Regions from separate parts of the Homo sapiens genome. Here all the other regions are linked to region 7. Evidence: promoter capture Hi-C in 16 types of primary human blood cells and fetal thymus (Javierre and others, 2016). All regions are on one chromosome and are shown on one strand. Each heading gives the region's core, a stretch centred on a gene start or on the middle of the fragment in contact. The rest is flanking DNA. Distances are from core to core; before and after follow the strand shown.

Region 1 (2,700 bases), core at 168-2,667, 770 kb after region 7:
CTTTCTCCTGTCCTACTGTGGAATAATGAGTCATTCAATTTTAAGACAAAAATTACTTTCTTTTTCCCTTAGCAACAAAACAACAACAAAAATCCTCATGCCTAATAGTTTTACTTACCAAAAACATGTCTTACACACCTCATATACGAGTTGTTTCTCTTATTATTTCTAGTTTTAATTATCACATGTCAGCCAGAATTCTTAACTCTCATTAACTTTAATTTTTAGAAGCATGTACTTTCTCATAGTACAATTTTTCAATGTGGCACAAGACATGTTTGCTAACAGACCAAATATCTTTAATTTTTCTGTAATAAGAAGCCAAAATTAGATCAGTTTAAAGAAATTAATGTTTCAGTATTTTATCTTATTTGGAAATGATCTAAATATTTAAATGAATATTCATCATTTAATTTCATTTAGTGAAATTCCAAGGGTGTAAGTTACCAAAGAGATTTGGGAAACTATTTTTAAATAGACACATTATAATACAAAACAAAGCTAGCCATCATCAAGTTATTCTCTGTTAGCTATTTTGACGGCATGTGCAGGTCAGACAGTCTTCATGAAAGCAAGAATCCTAAATGTTAAATACGTGATTTTTGTTGCTATTTTTCTGCTACATATGATATACATGAAGTAATGGACACTGTACTTCCACTTGTACATTTATTCTTAGGTTGACCTCATAGATCTATAATCTGAAACATGCAGTAAAGATAACATAAACTTATTTGACTGGTAAACCCAAGTAAAATTAAAATGTTATGCTGATATTGTCCTCAAAACTGGTAACTCAAAAGACACAACTACTTTTATTAAACCAAAAATACTGAACTAGTCTTGTTTTGTTTTCCAAAGATGTACCTAAGTCATGTGAACTTGAAAAGCATTTGGGTTAGTTTCTATACTTCCAAGAGTTTAAGGAATACTTAATTTATATAAGCACTCATTTTTCTCTAAGCCAATTAGAGCTCTTTTATAATTTTGTCAATACCATCCAGAGGCAGAAAAAGGTTACATATATATAACATAAATAGACTTACTTAAACATAGACATATGCAGAGATCCTATAGCTTTCATTTTAGTTTTAGTCACATACCAGGTACAATATATAAAACTCATCAGTTTGTAAAAGAATATCTGATTCAGAATTGTATTTCTGACCAATGGAATGAGATTATCTGCCCAGATGGCTAGAACATTTTTCCAATATTTGTAGAAAAGACTTGAAAGATTTTGTGTTTGCTAGTTTCCACATAGCTCCTTTTTTGTTTTCCTCCAATGAATCATTTCCCTTAAATTTGCATTTCCAAAGTGCTCTAAGATATGACAAGGTAGAAAATTTACATTTCAAAGACATGGAGCTTAGACTTTATGATTAAATACCATCATTTGCAGAAACAAAAAAGCATATAGGTGAAGGACCAGTTAAGACAAGAAGACCGGGAAAGCCGCCTTAAAGAAAAGTGAGTCTTGTTAAGTAGCCTTAAGCCAGTTCCTTTTCCATTGTAACAGTTTTTAGTGATGCCGTCTTTCTTCTCTTTCTGATGCAGAGAGGCCTTACAAATGAAGGTTTCCTTTATGGAAGTACATTTTTCTTACAAAACAGTCCCAAAATAATCAGCTGAAAGTAGTACTTACGCTGAAAAGGCATATTTTGAGACTAATTTAGCTGAATAGGCAGCTTCCTAGCCCAGCCTGTGTTTTTCAAACTATATTACTGAGTTTAGAGCAGAACCCATAATGAATAGGGCAGACAAGGCATTTTCTATGCCTGGACTCAGCATGAGACCAGAATGTTTTACAAATAGTACTTCTAATCTTGCCTTATAGTCAGAGACCGGTTTATTCTTTTTTGTTTGTTTGTTTACAAGATGGAATGACAGAGCAGTGGACTTTTTTTGAGGGAATATTTCAAGAATGGATTCTAGGAGATTATTTGCTATTTTCATAGCCTTTTATTGGTCCACTCCTGAAATATTGAGTGGTCGAATCTGCCAAGGCGTTTGAGCGGGAGCAACTCCATCTTGAATAGGAGCTGGGTAAAATGGGGCTGAAACCTACTAGGCTGCATTCCCAGATGATTAAAGCATTGTAAATCATAGGATGAGATAGGAGGTTGGCATAAAATACAGGTCATAAAGACCTTGCTGATAAAACAGTTTGCAGTAAAGAAGCCAGCTCTAACCCACCAAAACCAAGATGGCAACAAGAGTGACCTCTGGTCTCCCTCACTGCTACACTCCCACCAGAACCACTGACAGTTTACAAATACCATGGCAACATCAGGAAGTTACCCTATATGGTCTAAAAAGGGAGGCATGAATAATCCACCCCTTGTTTAACATATCATCAAGAATTAACCATAAAAATGGCCAACCAGCAGCTCTATGGGTGGCTCTGTCTAAGGAGTAACCATTCTTTTATTCCTTTACTTTCCTAATAAACTTGCTTTCACTTTATTGTACGGACTCACCCTGAATTCTTTCTTGCACGAGATCCAAGAACCCTCTCTTGGGGTCTGGATTGGGACCCTTTTCCTGTAACACATATTTGATATCTTTCTCAAGTACCTGCCATTTGGCTCCAGTTATTAATTTATGGGCTTTGCCAGGTGCAAGTATCATGTGACTAAATTGGTAAAGATCAAGGGTCTTAGATTATATACTTCAGTGAGAATTTTAAATTCCTAAACA
Region 2 (2,700 bases), core at 198-2,697, 660 kb after region 7:
AAAGTAATCAAAGGGTCCTTAAGAGTGGAAAAGGGAGGCAGAAAAAAAGGATCAGAGAAAGAAATGTGATCATGAAAGCCAGGCAGAGAGCTGTAACATTGCTGGATGTGGAGATAGGGGAAGGGGCCACAAGTCAAGGACTGCAGATGGCCTTTGAAAACTGGAAAAGGCAAAGAAGCAGATTCTCTCTCCTAAGCCTCCAGAAAGAAATGCAGCCCTACCAAGTCCTTCATTTTAGCCCAATGAGATCCATATCAGACTTCTAGCCTACACAACTATAAGATAATACATTTGTATTGTTTTCAGCCACTAAGTGTGTGGTAAATTGTTACGGCAGCCATAGGACGTCGATAATAATGATGGTGAAGAAACCACCAATTCAAAGCACATTTTGGAGGTTAAATTCACCTCCTAAAGGATTTAGAGATCCAGTAGATAACTAGTGCCTTGCCAGTTGGAACGTGGTTCCAGGATGATATGAAAGGAGATGAAGTGAACTCAAAAGACTCCATTTTCTTCTCTGAATCTAAAGTCACTTAACCGATATACTATGTTTTGATTCCTCCAAACCATAGCCTCATCCATTTGTTCCATACTTTTCTGCTTTTTTTTATTTGACTTCCCTCATTCAGCCTTTCTATTTGTATCAACAGCTTCACCAGAAATTCTCTGCATTTTTTCTCTCCATTTTCTCAACCCATAATTACCAGATTCAGACCTTTAGTGGACTGAAAAAGTATCAAATGATCTTTGTCTCCTTCTACCTCCTTCTGGTACATTTTCCAGTTTTCTCTTCATATGTTCTCTCAAGAAATAACTCCAATACACTCTTTGATGAGATTTTGCCTTATAAGACACAGACATCCCCCCAGGGAGCTTCCACTACTGGGGAGCCCAGGCCATCAACACTAACAATAAAGTGTGACATGGTGGAAATACCCAACCTAGTGTAAGGAGAGGAGGCCTTCAGGGAAAGCCATAAGCTTCTGCATGGGTGTCTTTAGAAAGCAATTTCCCATCATACTTCTCTTAGCTTTTGATTTTGCAAGCAGGGAAATGTCTGCCTAAAAGCTAAGAACTGGGCTCAGGCAGGCTTGACAGAAAAAGTGCTTGCACTTGCACAATATCAGAATCACAGCCACCTAAGGTGACCCAAGCCCTACCTTTTACTTGTCACATCAAAGGAGAAAACATAAAGAGAGGAGATATCCTGATTTTCTGATATTTAAATTTGCTTTACAGAGGAAATAAAATAGTTCATTTAATGGGAATAAACATTCAACTTAAAGTCACAAATATATTCTGGGGGAAAAAAGTTACCATCTGTTCCCTCTACTTGAATATAAGTTTGTTTTCTATATACAGAATGACTGCATCTATCCAAAAAGTATATGTTGAGCTGAGTGCAGCAACAAAGACATCAGTGACATAGTCCCTGACTTCTAGGACTTAAAATCTGCTTGAAAAAAAACAAAACATACAACCTTGAAGCACTATAATAATAATAGTCACAATACTTTTTTTAGCTCTTTTTACATATGATTTTATCTACCGTTAAATTATAAAAGCAGCGCAGAAAAAGTCTGCTGAATTTCAGAGAAAGGAGCTAGAAGGGGTTCATAGTTCTGGAAGGCTGGAGGGAGGATGCAGTATCTCAGTTGGCCCTGGAAGATGGCCTGGAGAAGCACCAGAAAATCTGAAACATACAAAACCAGAGAAGTAGAATATTCATGAGAAGGCTAAGGGAACCGTAAATAGATCAGTTTGGCCAAAACGAAGGTTACAAGGGGAGATGTTGCCAGATCATGGAAGACTTCCACTCTTTTCAAAAGGGGTATTTGCTGGGAGCATCAGAAACCACACACGACCATGGTGCAGTTTTCTTACATGTCCATTTTCTCTGAAGCTTTGGAAAGGAAAGTTCGGTCTGTAAACTTGTTTTACATATTATTTTCATAGAAATGCAAACATTGGTACATTTTTAAGTAAAAAATAGAAATTTGCATGAATGTTTAAGATAAAAACATTTCAAAGAATGTTGTCCCTTGCAGCAGGACCTCAAACCCTGAACGTTCACCTTCCCAGACTCTTTCTGCTCTGTCATCCCCAACCCCAGACAACTGATAAGCTCAGTCTGGTGCAACTCCTCTCATTTCCCAGTTTGACTCCTCTCCCGCCGGCTGACACTGTGCCAGCTCAGGTTCTTATCAGCTATCACTCAGGTTATTGCAGTTGAATCCTACCTGGACCTGCTGCCTCCCCATCATTCCTTTCCCCTCTCCTTCTACACTATGCCCAGGGTTGTCTTTCTTTCTTCTTTTTTTTTTTTTTGTTTTTTTGTTTGTTTGTTTGTTTGTTTGGAGATGGAGTCTCGCTCTGTCGCCCAGGCTGGAGTGCAGTGGTGCGATCTCGGCTCACTGCAACCTCTGCCTACCGATGTGAGCCATGTGAGCCACCACGCCTGGCCTCCTTCTGGTATTTTCTTTTTTTTGAGACGGAGTCTCACTCTGTCACCCCAGCTGGAGTGCAATGGCACTATCTAGGCTCATTGCAACCTCCACCTCCTGGGTTCAAGTGATTCTCCTGCCTCAGCCTCCTAAGTAGCTGGGACTACAGGCGCATGCCACCACGCCTAGCTAATTTTTCTATTTTTAGTAGAGACGGGGTTTCACCATGTTGGCCAGGATGGTCTAGTTCTCT
Region 3 (2,700 bases), core at 188-2,687, 680 kb after region 7:
GAGTCAGTTGAGGGGAAACAAGAATGATGTCTACTAGGAAATCAAGCTAGTGATTTGATTGTTTTATGGAATCATAGATTCTTAGACTTGAAAATAGCTTTAGAGGTCACCTAGGCCAACCTCTAACCTAAGGCCAAATGCAAATTGTCCCCTTTGATATTTGGAAGATGACCATCTGAGCTCCCCCATTATGCAAGACAAAATTATCAGTACCCTCCCAAATACATCTAAGGATGCCCAGAAGTGCTTATGTTGTCCAAGATGTCTCTTATGCCTCTTCCAGATACCCCCTCTCTGTCCTTTATCCCTGGCCAACTCATAACAGCTTCTCCTGGCTGCCCAAGCTGCTCATCCTGTTCTCTGTAAAGCCAAGCCTGGACACTGGCATCCCCCTTCACTTCCTAAGACATTGCTAACTAAGGACTCTAGCATGTGACAAACTCTACCAGGGCCGAAAGACAGCACATGGGCAGAGGTTCTTCCTGATCATCTTTCTTCTTAGCATTAGCCTGCTACCTTGTGCTCAGAACCTGCCCTGCTCTCCTGAATGGGATGTTCCTTCCAACATCCCCTCTCCTGGGGCCCAGGCTCCTACCTTTAGTCTCTGGGTTTGTCAGCAGAAGCCAAAATCAGTCACCATTTATATCAGCTCAAATTAGGTTTACCTGTGAGTGACTGAAAACCCAAAATAACAGTAGCTTAACGAAGACCGTAGTTATTACTTCCTCCCATAAAAGTCTGGGTGCTTACCAGGCTGGTCCATGGTGTCAGGGACAAAGACTCCTTCTCTTTTGTTGACCAGTCCTGCAGAGCCCTTGTTAATGACTGGAAGGGGCTTCAACCATCCCAGCCACATCCAAGAATTGAAATGGGGGTAGGGGGAGAAGGAAGAGAGAGCATGCAGAAACTGTCCCATTGCATCCTGTTAGCCAAAACTTGATACCTAGAGACCCCTTGCTGCAAGGAGGCTGGAAAAAAATGTAGTCTTTATCCTGAGTAACCACGTACCTAGCTAGTATTTCCATAACAAAAGAAGAGGAAGAGAGGAAATATTAGGGGTAGGGGAGAAACATTAACTGTCTCTGCTGAGTAAATACGTCTGTTGATTCCAATTCATTGTTGACTTCACCCTTTCCTTTCTATGTCCTTCCCTCATAGCTGCCATCTTTTTTTTTCAGTCCCATTGTTCCTATTCTCATTCTTGTTCATGGATTCTCACCTAGGATTTTGCCACAGCCCCCCAACAGGCCTCTCTGCCCCGCAACTCACTCCTCTGCTTCTCCCCTTGGTGACCTTGCTAAGCAGAGCTGTTACCTCGGACCTCTCCAGGCCAAACTCCTTCAATAACTCTCCACTACCTGCAAAATGAAGATCAACTGCATGGCCAGACATTCCCTACTCCAAACTGGCTGTAGGGTTAGGCTTTATTTTGCAAGTGGTGGGAATTCATCAAAGGTGTGTGGACTAGAGAGGTACAAAGTAACAGCTCTGCTCAGCAAATATAACCAAACAGACCTTGTGTTTGACTTTGGCTTCCCCACTTCACCCTCCATCTTTGCCTCTCAAACTCCCACCCATGTTTCAAGATCCAACTTGACTGTCATCTGCTCTATGAGCATTTTCCAGTTCCAGCCTTTGTCCTAGCTCTGCCAGTGTCACCCTTAAATACACACACACACACACACACACACACACAAACACACTCCATCACCTCCCTCACCTTCTCTGCTTCTGTGTTACTGTTTCATTTCATTTTGTTTCCTCTGTATTGCAGAGATGATGACTTTGTGTCTGTGAATCCATCTATCCCCAGCACTCTGGTAATGTGGACCATGCCTTGTTCATCTGTCTCCCACCCAGGGACTTGGACAAAGTGCTCAGTTGACATTCATTAAACTGATCATCGGTACCAAGAAATTACAAATAGATGCGTAAAAATCTGGAAACAGTCTTTCTCAGCAACCATTCCAGAATTACAAACTTTCTCTAGCATGACCGTAGGATCTAAATGCAGTTCCAGTGGAATTAAATGTATGGGTTGTTTTGTGTCTATAGCATGACTCCTTCCTGTCTGAGAACTTTCTGGAACCCAAATTGCTAGTGCAGCTGGAATCAGGGTGTCTGACAAGAGGCAGCTGTCACTTCACATTTTGCAAAATATTTCCACAAAAATTGCCCCAAAATGCAAAAATCTTTCATTAGGAAGAGCTGATTCATGGAATTTATAATAGGAATCCTGTATGGCTGCATAATTCAGTAGAGGAAAATAGAAAAGAATAAACAAGTATTGGTCTCTCCAGGCCATTCCTTTTGAAGCCAAGTCAGGGCACAGAGCACTATGGACACTGCATGACCAGCCTGGTTGAAGGCAATGTTGGAGATAAACTTTCCCACACAGAAACCCTTCTCAGCCCTGAGTCTCTGTAAAAATGCACAGCTCTTGCATGTACATAGAGACTTCTCTTCCCCAGGCAGAGGAGTCAACGTGAAAGCCAAAGCCAAAGCACACTAGCCCTTCAGAGATCAAAAACCCTGTGACACTCTCAGAATACCTGTGTCCTGACAGATATTCAGCAAAATATTTTGTGACAGTGTCACCATAACCTCTTTGGAACACAGGGCTGTAGGTCCCATCCTTCCTGCCTTTCTATGTACATCTCATGTGGAATCTTTCTCTCTCTAGTACATTCAACCTCCTTC
Region 4 (2,700 bases), core at 186-2,685, 700 kb after region 7:
CCTGAGAACCAGTGGTTGGGAAGAGTCAGAGAAGAAAAGGCCAGAGTGGGAAAAACACATAAAGTTAAGGCTGGAGATGACACAACAAAATACTATCATCTACCCTATTTGTCCCAGTTCACCTGTCTCCCATTACCTCACAGCAACACCTTTACCACATCCTTAAATCCCCAACCAAAACTCCATCCTTAAAAGCCAATCCACTTTCTAGGAGATCTTGTATCCTACATGACAACAAAAACGGAGATCATCAGATGGTAATGCCTTCACGTCCTGGTCTCCCCACTACAAATCTATCTTCTCTAGGTGAACCCTTGCTCCCTCCTTTATGTCATAGAGGAAGTTTCTTTTTCCCTATCTGAGAAAGGAGATAGGGAAGCTGTGCTCTAAATCCATCTACTCTCTCCTCTTCACTTTGTCACTATCTCAGGATTGTGTATTTAAAAGTGCTCAAGGCTTTCCCCTCTTTAACAAGAAAAGCCTCTCTTACTATAAATTCTTTGTATACTTTTAATATAAGTCACCTCTATCTACCACCAGACCTCTGTGCTTTCTTTCATCATCCAACACCCACTTCTCTTCTCCTTCCATGCTCCCTCCCTGGGTTGTTTGCTTCCACTGCACATATGTTCACTTACAGCTATGGTCTGATGTGTATGTGCCCCCAAACACATGTGTTGAAAGTGAGTCACTAATGTGATGTATTTGGAGATAGAGCCTTTAGGGGGTGATTAGGTCATGAGGATGGAACCCCCCATGAATGGGATTAGTGCCCCTATAAAAGAGGCCCCAGAAAGCTGCTTTGCCTCTTCTACCACATGAGGATACAGCTAGCAGGAGCCATCTGTGAACCAGAAAGTGGGCCCTCACCAGACACCAAATCTGCTGACACTTTGATCTTGGATTTCCAGCCACCAGAACTGTGAGAAATAAATTTCCATTGTTTATAAACTACCCAGTTTGTGGTATCTTGTTAAGCCACTCAAACAGACTAAGACATTTACACATAAATGACTCTGCCCTGGGCTTCAGACTCAAACATCCCACCACTTACTGATCATCTCCATTTGCATTTCTCTGAGATACTTTAAACTCAAAATGTCCTACTGGACATCATTTTTTCACCACTCTCTAAATCTGGATCTCCTTCTATTCCCTTTTTCAGTAAATGGTCCCCAGATTTCTCCAGTCATATAAAGCAGAAACTGAGGTTCTTTCTTGATACCTATTTCTCCTTCAACCCTATATCTGATCCGTCTCCCTATCCTATTGTCTGACCATCTAGACATCCCTCAATTCTGTCTCTGTTTATCTCCTTTGCCACCACACACTAACTGCCGACTGATCTGCCTGTATGTAGCTTGCCCCATCCAATCTATTCTCTACAGTAGACAGCAAGGTCTTTATAAAAATGCAAATCTGAATCTGTCACTCCCTTGCTAAAAATGCTTCAGTGACTTCCCAGTGATCCTAGGGAGAAGCACCCAAAATCCTTAAAATAGTATAGTAACAGAAATCCTACTTTGAAACATGGACACACCCCACACACTTTTCTCTTCTGCCAACCCAAAAAAGTAAATGTATCCCCTAGATGGCCAGAGCCATCCATCTGCTCTGGGAAAGATGAAAACTGTAAAGGAAAAATGCAAAGAAGCTGGGAGGAAGAGTTCATATTCTGATTTTTTACTTTAAAATGGAATTTTGCAGCAAGCCAGTAGTCATGCAAGAAAAGATTTCCTGAATTCCTTTATCCTCTCTTTTAGCTTAATCCAGAATCAAGTCTGGCTGCCGAAATCATGGGTTCCCCACAGAACACAGAAGGTTCCCCTTGCTGTTCTGTGGTAGAAAACAAAACATCTAGTCCATACTTCTCATCCTGCACACATCCCCTTATACAGTGAGTTCCTAGCTGAGAGCCCACAGCCTACCAGTGAAACAGGAATTAAAAGAAATTAAAGAATGTGTAAGCAAAAACTCATTATATCATTGTATATAAGAAAACCCAATTCCCCTTGAGGAAGAGGAAGAGCTGAAGTCCTTTAAAAATTAACTGCCTGTTTTTCTGTGGCTAGTGAGTCTTATCTCTCCACCTTTCCCAGGCATTGTGAAGACCCTGTTTCTCTAGCTGTGCAGCTGCAAGGTCACTAGGCAGATAAACTCAAGTCATAAAACGTGTTTTTCCTTGGAAAGTAAGAAATAATGTAATGCATGTCTCAATTGAATAACTGTCTTTGTTTCTCTCTTCTGTAATATACTTCCCCCTGCACAGATCTCCCCGGCCCACAAAATACTTAAAAAGTAACCGGACTCTTTGTTCAGGGCTCAATCTTTTTGGATGTTAATCTGACTGGGCCGGTGCACCTAAATAATAAATAATATATATCCTCCTCGACCTTTGGTCTCTCTGATTCCTAAATTATCCTGCTGCACCAGGACTTATAGGAGCAGAAATCAGAAGACTTTACTCCACACACTTCAGGTGGACATGTGGACAAAGCCATCGGAGAACATGACAAAAATACAGCAAGAGCAGAGACAAGATCAGATCATCCTGGGGGCAGATGCTGGGCTCTGACCAATTTGAGAGAGAAAAGGAAAAAGAACCCAGCTACAAGATGCACAAGTAGCAGGCCACAGCCACCAACATCAGCAGAGCAATTGGAGGCCAGGAAGACAAGGACACTTCTGAAGAGACTGAAA
Region 5 (2,700 bases), core at 59-2,558, 870 kb after region 7:
ATTTTAAAAGAAGAGAAAAGAGAATAAAAAAGAAGAAGAAAAAAATGCTACCAACTACTCTATGAGTGAAAATGTAGTACGTCCAAAGGTATCTTGGTAAATTCCAGTTAGCTCAGCCCTGTCACTTAGAAGGAAACCATATACAAGGAACAGGCTCCATAATGCTAAAGAACCAGGCACTGTGTGTCAGGCAGACTGTAAGTTAGCCCTTAGAAAAGCAAACACAGTCAGAACACATGAGTGTTGAAGGGAATATCACCATTCAGCTGGACCCATATGAATGCTGAACCTCTGAAACTGGATTCAAAATCAGTCTATAAGCAAAGCAAGGTGTGTGTATATAGGTACCAATTTCTGCCCTGGAAGAAAAATCAAAATATAAACAGTCTACCACTCAAATGTGCATGTCATTTAAAAAAAAAAAAAACATACACACACACACACACATAAACACAAACACCAGCATCCTTCTCCATATCTTATACTTAACATGTACAGAAGCTCAATTACTTGTCAACACAGTAAATTCCAAAAGGCAATTTGTAACTATATTTATTCAAAAGTCCAAAATTGCTAAAGGGAGGGATGGGAGTTAAGCTTACAGTCTCAAGATTCATTTCTACCAAATAGGAGTTAACCAATTCTTCAGAACTTTAAAATGTCCACAATCCTCCTTTCTTTACACTGTAGCAAACATTTTTTTCAAAAATAGGTGAGTCACATCTATACTGAAACTGTTCTGGCAGATACCATCCCTTGATAAACTTTGAAAGAACTACAGAAATGTCTTGGAACCTACAGATTCCAACTATGCCACCACCCCTCTCACTCTGAGGTCGTATAGGCTTGAAAGGACCATGAACCTACAGCCCCACTCATGGTTTCCCAAAATGTCTCCAGCGGCCCTTTTACTATACTTGGCTCTGGAGTTACAATTTCCTACTCTTCAGCTGAATTACCAAAAGCCAACAAGCCTCTGAGCACATACGCTGATCCTACAGCCCACAGACACACGTTTTTCCATTTCGTCAGTGACTGTTCCTCATCTCCTGCTGACAGTTCACTCTTTGTCCTTCTGTTAAATGATTCATTCTATCACAAATGTAACATTCATTATTTTTCTTACCACTTTCCTTTTTTGTTAACCTCTATTGGACTCACAAGCCTTTTTAACATCCCTTATAATACTTTTGTTGTCCTTGCACTTACCGGACATGAGTGGCTTAATAATATTTGTAACATCTCAAAAATCAACCATTAGTTCAGCAAAAATGCCACAGCAGGCAAACAAGGAGCCTCCTGTGACCACTCAAGACCACTAATGCCATCTATTGGCAGTGGGCTGGGTTGATAGGCATTTGCTCTGGAGCCTGACTTCACTTTCATCATTACGAATCCTTAAATTAAACAGCTTCTGTGTTTTCTTAATTCTCCCACCCACAATATGTGAGTTTTATCTCCTTTGGCTACATTATTCAGTGGGCTATGTGGGAGGGGATTGTTTAAAAGGTTACTTACCACGTCAATGCCAAAGACTGCAAAATGCAGAAGATAAGTGCAAGTCCCTTGTTATGCCACTGGAAAAATAATAATATGGTTATAGGAGAGTGTGAGACAAGGGGCAAAAGCCAAAATGGTTAAGAAAAATTAAAATATACATTTACCCAAAAGGCAGAACACAGGGTAAGTGCAAAACACAACTAAAGGAAGAAAGGAAACATTAATTAATGACAATAACATGGCAGGAAAAAAAAAACTCAAAACTTGTTATTCTTCACAAATGCACAAAACTTATGCATCCTTCATCTCAAAGCAGTTAACCCACCTGAGCACCCATATTTGGCAGAATAGTTAAAAATCTCCATGAAATCAAACTAGCCAATAAAGATTCACATAGATAAGATGTTCTTTTACTTTCAAGTTTTCCCAGAACCTCTGCCCAGCAAACAAATCACATTTCAGGCCCACCCATTCATCCGTCCATCCATCTTTTCATTCAAATGCACTAAAGTAAGCTTAACACAAATCTTTCTATTTTAACTCCTACCAAATGCTAGTCTCTGCAGCAGAAAGCACATGTGAGGACAAAGGTTAACCTGAGATATCAATCTCACAGTCAGCATGCCAGTTACTTGTGTACCTATCACCTAACACTTTCCCTAAGGCCATTCTTAGAAAGCTCTTTCTGCAAGAGACTTGTCCAGGCCGTGGGCATCTGAGGCTGGCCAAGGACAACTGGTGCTAGAGCAGTCAGCCATGCCTTTCTTCGCCATCCTTCTATAACAATAACTACTCAAATATGTCCTAAATATTCTCTGTGTCCAGCATTGTGCCCAATACTCTAAAAGGACACAAAATAAACAGGAAATGTGGTCACAGCTTTTGATAACTCACCTATTTGAACAAATGAGATTATATAAATGAAACTAAAAATAAAAGTATGTTCTTCAAGTTCCAAATGTTGCAATAGCTATAAAAGTCCAGAGAATGTAGGTCTGGAATGATTTTGACAACCACAGGGAAGAAAATAGGCCAAAAATGAGAGGCATTTAGGGTCAATGGAACAGGAAGATACAACAAAGCTAAAGACAATGTTGTCAGAGCAGGGTACAAGGATGACAGGCCATAAGGAGGCCACTCCCACTTTGGGGAGACTGATGAAAAACAGTAATAAGTCCCCAAGTCAGATAATGAGGAATA
Region 6 (2,700 bases), core at 133-2,632, 790 kb after region 7:
TGGAGGTGAGTAGGAAGGAAGTGGGCAGTGACTATTAATGGGTATAAGCTTTCTTTGTAGGGTGACAAAAATGTTCTAAAATTAGATTATGGTTATGGGCACACAACTCTGTAAATATACTAGAAAAGTCCAATGAATTTCCCCTTTAAATAGGCTGTGTAAATTATATATCAATAAAGCTATTAAAAATAATAATCTGTCTGGGCCCGGCGGTTCATGCCTGTAATCGCAGCAATTTGGGAGGCCGAGGCGCGTGGATCACCAGAGGTCAGGAGTTTGAGACCAGCCTGACCAACATGGTGAAACCCTATCTCTACAAAAATACAAAAAAATTAGCCAAGCATGACGGTGAGCGCCTGTAATCCCACCTACTCGGGAGGCTGAGGCAGGAGAATTGCTTGAACCCAGCAGGCAGAGGTTGCAGCGAGCCAAGATCGTGCCGCTGCACTCCAGCCTAGGCAACAGAGCAAGACTCTGTCTCAAACAAACAAATAACAACAAAAAAAAACTTTTCTAAAGAAATACGATCTTATAAAGACACAACTTTGACAAAAATATACAAAGAACTTTTTATCAAACCAAACATGTTTCCCCACCTAAAATTTCCAAGTACTGCTAAGGATTATTTCTAAAAATTCTGGATTAATACCTGTGGGGTGCCTACCATGTACCTACCAGGCACATGTGCAAGGTGTTGGAGGTACAGCAATGGAAGACAGTTTTTGTCCTCAAGTATAACCAAGACAGTCATCCACCCTGTAATAACACAATTAGCCATTTCTCTAATTTAAATTTCTAACTCTAGTAACCATCAACACCCACCTGCTCAAGTTAACAGAAATCCATGGAGTATCCTCAATCTCTCATGACTTCCTGTCATTACAACCCTGGACATTTTCCCCCAACATATCCCACTTAGCAACTTTAGCCCAGGCCCCAAGTGTTAACGCTTGAGGATCCACTCTTTTAACCCACACACCAGCCATTTTTCTCAAGGCATGGCAGTGTCCAGGTGGCTGCATAAGTCCACATTGGGTCCAGGAGCATCTCTTACCTCCAGTTGCTCTTGTGTGGAAACCAGTCATCCATTCAAACTACTCCTCCCATTGTGGTAATATAATTTTGTCTTAGAGGAAATATACTTTTCCTGCTGCCCAACCTTGGTCTGGGCTAACCCAAGCCATCCAATATATTTCACTACATTTTAACCACAAATAGAAAAGGTCTTTCCTTCTAAGAGATTACTACGTTCCCACCTAAAATATGTCTGATTCCTCCTCAGCAACCTCCAAGCTCCAAGCCCTCCCCATCTAATAAGTATGTAGGAGGGATACCACAGCTCCATCCTCCAGAACCAGCCCTGGTTAACCCAAAACTCCTTGTTAACACTCCTCCCCAAACTCCACCCCCTAAAAAGTGTTCTTTCAGAACAAAGTGAATCTACCCCAAAGGTTTATTGACTTATTCTCTAGGGACAGGGAACTCATCACTAAATAGACATACTTGTGCATACACACACACACACACACACACATAAACACACACAGTTACTCCTACAAAGTGCTCCAAATAAGAGTGGTCATGACCAGAAAATGTGAATTTCCGATGTTTCCATGTTGAGAATGAGAGATTGACCAACTTCTCACTCCCAACTAGTTGAATTCTAAGTCCTCACCTGGGCCTGACCAGTTGCTCTGGCCTCCGGGTTTCCCAGACGCCAGTTTTATTTCAGTAGCCTAGGTACTTTGGCAGGAAGGGGGCTGGAGAACTGAAACGATTGGCTGGAGATGAAATCACAGGGACACCTAAAACTGTCTTCGTGTGGCTGAGTCAGTTCCTGGAAGAGGGCCTCAGGACCAGGTGGCATCTCTTGTTTTGTCACAATGCTAAATCTGAAAGATATCTCAAAGACCAGTTCTTTAGGTTTCACAATAGTGATGTTAGCTATAGGAGTAGATGGGGGAGTTATAAATCATGTGACCCCCAGTTTTGTGATTCTGGGGCAGTAAACAACTTATAGAAAAACAAACTAAGCGATGGCAGGTCATGGTTTAACTATGCCTATTCTACAGCAAAGTCCAAGGCCCTACCACAATTTTAGCCTTGTCTTATGAACGCAGCTTCAGTCTACAAAAAAAAAAAGAAATTTAGCCTGTGAGGTTAGAAGCAAGATGGAGTCAGTCACGTTAGATTTCTCTCATTACTTATTCCAAAAAGGTAGTTTCACCAAGAGTTTGGGGGGGTTCTATTCCTAGAAGGTTGGGGGGTTGGACAGACTACCCCATAGATGTGTCTATAATGATGATGATGGAAAAGTTTTGGTGTCTTCAGACCACAGAGGCTGTTCCTTTATATCTTTTGTGGCACCACATATCCCTACCTTAACCTCTGTTCCAGGATGCCCGTACTCTCTCTGTTCACCAACCTGGCCAGTAGCCAACAAGTGGCTCAAGGATGCCCGTACTCTCTCTGTTCACCAACCTGGCCAGTAGCCAACAAGTGGCTCAATAAAGTGGGAATGGGTGGAGAAAATAAAAAGGAAGGAGTTGAAAGAAGGGCCACTTGAATGCCCCAGTTGCCATCCCCTACTTTGGCTGACCCACAATTTCCGTAAAACAGAATTCATATTCTTCACAAATGTGACATTTTAACTTGCTGATATTCACTCAAATCTATTCTAGTCTTGAAGAAAGTGGTGAA
Region 7 (2,700 bases), core at 50-2,549:
GGAACACCAATCGGCCTCTGTTCAGGACTCCCTGAATGACTGCAGTGGTGGTGCCAGTGGTGTTGGTGGTGATGGTCATGATGATGATGATGATGATGATGATGTTGGAGGAGGAGGGGGCAGTGATGCAGCAGGGGGAGTTCCCTCCCTCCTTCCCTCACGCAGTCACGACTCATAGATTCGCCTACAACTCTGCCCTTCAAAATGACCTTTTTTTTAAAAAAAAAAAAGTCACCTTTCCGGAGAGGCTGAAAACAAGAAATCTAATTTTCGATGGAAAAAAGTCTATCCAACCAAGCAACAGGCTGCACAAAATATTTTAAGATCAGCTGCTCTGCGTTTATATTCCCTTCACCATAATCAACCCAACCTACTGACTGATCCACAACTGTCTGTGTAGACCTTGAAAACAACCAGACTTTGCCAGGTTTCGGGCCAAAGCTAAGAATCGGAGTCCTGAAATGGAGCTTATTGAACCATTTCTGGGTGGTGATGACTCCAGGGGAGGTCATGGAGGGAAATCCTTAGCCATCGCTGTGAAATACTACAGTGTGGATGGATTCCTCTCCACCCTTCTCTTTCCTCTCTTTTGAGATACGTATTTAGACTAGAAGAAAGATGCTGTAACACACAACCTCGTCTGCATTAGATCCCATCACCTCACGAGGTTCTCTCAAGACCCCAGATCTCATTTTTTTTTTAAGGACTCAGGACACGGGAGAGACAAATGTAGTCTCGCAGAGCCTGACTATTCCCAGGAGTAAAAGGCTCAACCGATGCACGGTAGGAAAGACTGCAAATTACCAAGCCAAGATCGCTACGATATGCATAACCTTCCGCCTGTCGTGTTCCAGCCCCGACCCTGCGCCCCACTCTGGGGACACCGCATTCCGCACAGGACTGCAAGCCCAGGCCGGCGCGACCCAGCAGCGTCCACCACCCTCGCCCCCGCCACCCCGGCCAGCGCGGTGGGTGCGGAACCGGCCGCGGACCCTGCGCAGGGGATGCGCCGCCCGGGAAAGATCAGACGCGGCGGCCGGGAGCTGCGGACCCCGTACTTACACCAACTGCCACCGGTCCTGCCCAGAAACTCCTTCTTCTCTGAGTTCCAGATGAATTTCTTCCAGCTGCCCTCCTCCTTGGCTTTCCCGCGGGCCATGGCGATGGCGGGTCAGCAGCTGCCGCGGTCCGGAGGGTGGGTGGCTGCGGCGCGCGCCCTGGCGTCCTCTGCGCCGCTCGGCTTCTCCGGCCTGGCTCTCTGCAGGCAGGACGCGCCGCTGCCGCTGCGGCTCTCGGAGTGCGAGACGCGCGGCGGAGGAGCCAAGGCAGGAGCAGGAGGAGGGGGAGGCGGCGGCGGCGGCGGCGGCGGGGCGGGGGCGGAGGGAGGGACGGCGCAGGCTGCGCGGCTCCGAGCCCCGCACCTATTGGTGGGCGCGCAGCCGCTCGCGGGCTTTCTTTGGTCCGCCGAGCGCTCCTCTAGCCCTTGGGGGGTCGGGGGCTCCGCGAACCCGTAGCTGCCGCTCCCGCTGCCACTGGGGACGTGTGCTGGGCCCCCGCCTCCCCTGACCTCTGCAGAGACAGGCCCGGGGTAGGAGAGTCAGAGAGGGAAGGACGGACAAGCGGACTGCGGGGCGCCACCGGCACTCCCGCCAGGAGCCGAGGAATTGGCTGCGCCCGCCCTACCTTTACTATATACCGCGCCCCGGCGGCCGTGCGCCCCGCCCTCTAGCGGCCCGGTGGCCAATCGCCGGCGCCAGGGGCAGGGACTCGGCCCGAGAGGGCGGGTTCGGGGCCGGCACAAAGGAGCCGCCGGGGCTAGAGGGGCCGCTTGGATCGCTGGGCGCGGGGCGTTGGGCGCGGGGCGAGGAGGAGGCGGGGGCGGCGGTGAGGGACGCGCAGGCAGCGCCGCGCAGCCCCCTCCCAGCTCCCGGCTGGGCGTGAACCGCCCCTTCCGTGGCTGGGGGATCCGCACCTGGGTCGCCCGGAGCCTCGAGGACCCCAGCCCGGCAGTCCTGGCCCAGCCTCCACGCCTCTGCCTGCCCGCCCGCGCTTTCGGCCTCCCTGGGCTGTGGGTCCACCCCTCCTGGGCGCTGGCGGGGTGGGGGAAGGTCACTCCGGGACGCCGGACTGGCGAGGACTCTGCCCAGCTCCGCCCCGCCTCCCGCTCCTGCACCTGCCGCCCCCTCGCACTCCCCGCCACTGCGGTTGCAGTTCCGGCCCTTCCCTCTTCTTTGCAGGCCAGCCCAGCCGGCAGCCCCGGTTCCTGACTGCCCGGCTGTGCCCCTTGTGGGCGGCCTGAACCACCTCGAGCAGGACAATTGCCAAACCCACCCAGGGCGGTAGCCCGCAGTGAGTTGTCCCGTAGAAACCAATTGAGACTCAGGCCAGTCTAGACCCCAGGCAACAATATCTGCACGTGACCCAGCCACCGAGGACTTTCTTGGTGCCCGGTCGGCGGCGGGTATTCTCATTGGCATGCTTTTATGCCCCCTTGGGGGTATCGATCCCTTTGTTCTGCTGTAAAATTCTTGGAGCCAAAGGACCTTTGGGAAAACCTAGCGCATAGGGCAAGATGTTGCAGACCTGGGGCATAGAGTACCCCTTCCCACTCTTTGTCCGCTGTTGCTGGAAAGCCAAACTCTTGGTTTCATCCCTCTCCTATGAGCCCCCAAGCAGCTTTATACATCCCTCTGAGGACAG

The links. Contacts are between HindIII fragments. The CHiCAGO score rates a contact against its expected background, and 5 or more counts as called.
Region 1: a contact is called between a fragment that was not itself captured here and the fragment with the promoter of ATP1B1 in region 7, in 2 of 17 cell types (naive CD8 T cells and total CD8 T cells). The highest score is 6.9, in naive CD8 T cells.
Region 2: a fragment that was not itself captured here is called in contact with the fragment with the promoter of ATP1B1 in region 7 in 4 of 17 cell types (naive CD8 T cells, fetal thymus, naive CD4 T cells and 1 more); the score reaches 7.0 in naive CD8 T cells.
Region 3: a fragment that was not itself captured here is called in contact with the fragment with the promoter of ATP1B1 in region 7 in 3 of 17 cell types (naive CD8 T cells, total CD8 T cells and naive CD4 T cells); the score reaches 8.1 in naive CD8 T cells.
Region 4: a contact is called between a fragment that was not itself captured here and the fragment with the promoter of ATP1B1 in region 7, in 1 of 17 cell types (naive CD8 T cells). The highest score is 8.3, in naive CD8 T cells.
Region 5: a contact is called between a fragment that was not itself captured here and the fragment with the promoter of ATP1B1 in region 7, in 1 of 17 cell types (total CD8 T cells). The highest score is 6.8, in total CD8 T cells.
Region 6: a contact is called between a fragment that was not itself captured here and the fragment with the promoter of ATP1B1 in region 7, in 1 of 17 cell types (naive CD8 T cells). The highest score is 5.4, in naive CD8 T cells.

Annotation. Positions count from the first base shown.
Region 1 is chr1:168,333,054-168,335,753 of GRCh38, reverse strand. No RefSeq gene overlaps it. Among named protein-coding and RNA genes, the nearest start is that of MIR557, 41 kb to the left of the region's middle. The HindIII fragment of the contact is 3,098 bases long and covers 1-2,700 here.
Region 2 is chr1:168,445,263-168,447,962 of GRCh38, reverse strand. The region is part of intron 4 of LOC125312414 (a long non-coding RNA gene); the gene reads left to right. Among named protein-coding and RNA genes, the nearest start is that of MIR557, 71 kb to the right of the region's middle. The HindIII fragment of the contact is 923 bases long and covers 986-1,908 here.
Region 3 is chr1:168,423,898-168,426,597 of GRCh38, reverse strand. The region is part of intron 4 of LOC125312414 (a long non-coding RNA gene); the gene reads left to right. Among named protein-coding and RNA genes, the nearest start is that of MIR557, 50 kb to the right of the region's middle. The HindIII fragment of the contact is 4,174 bases long and covers 1-2,700 here.
Region 4 is chr1:168,402,077-168,404,776 of GRCh38, reverse strand. It overlaps LOC125312414 (a long non-coding RNA gene), which reads left to right. Exons shown (of 8, transcript NR_176090.1): 8 at 2,270-2,700. LOC100505918 (a long non-coding RNA gene) reads left to right here. Exons shown (of 5, transcript NR_176059.1): 5 at 2,434-2,700. Among named protein-coding and RNA genes, the nearest start is that of MIR557, 28 kb to the right of the region's middle. The HindIII fragment of the contact is 3,564 bases long and covers 1-2,700 here.
Region 5 is chr1:168,235,589-168,238,288 of GRCh38, reverse strand. It overlaps SFT2D2 (SFT2 domain containing 2), which reads right to left. Exons shown (of 8, transcript NM_199344.3): 5 at 1,665-1,700; 6 at 1,519-1,577. Among named protein-coding and RNA genes, the nearest start is that of SFT2D2, 11 kb to the right of the region's middle. The HindIII fragment of the contact is 1,418 bases long and covers 600-2,017 here.
Region 6 is chr1:168,316,622-168,319,321 of GRCh38, reverse strand. No RefSeq gene overlaps it. Among named protein-coding and RNA genes, the nearest start is that of TBX19, 37 kb to the right of the region's middle. The HindIII fragment of the contact is 2,663 bases long and covers 51-2,700 here.
Region 7 is chr1:169,105,289-169,107,988 of GRCh38, reverse strand. It overlaps ATP1B1 (ATPase Na+/K+ transporting subunit beta 1), which reads right to left and starts at 1,299. Exons shown (of 6, transcript NM_001677.4): 1 at 1,063-1,299. The coding sequence starts at 1,159. RefSeq lists enhancers at 590-1,162, 1,163-1,735, 1,524-1,818, 2,309-2,700 and a silencer at 1,332-2,251. The HindIII fragment of the contact is 9,537 bases long and covers 1-2,700 here.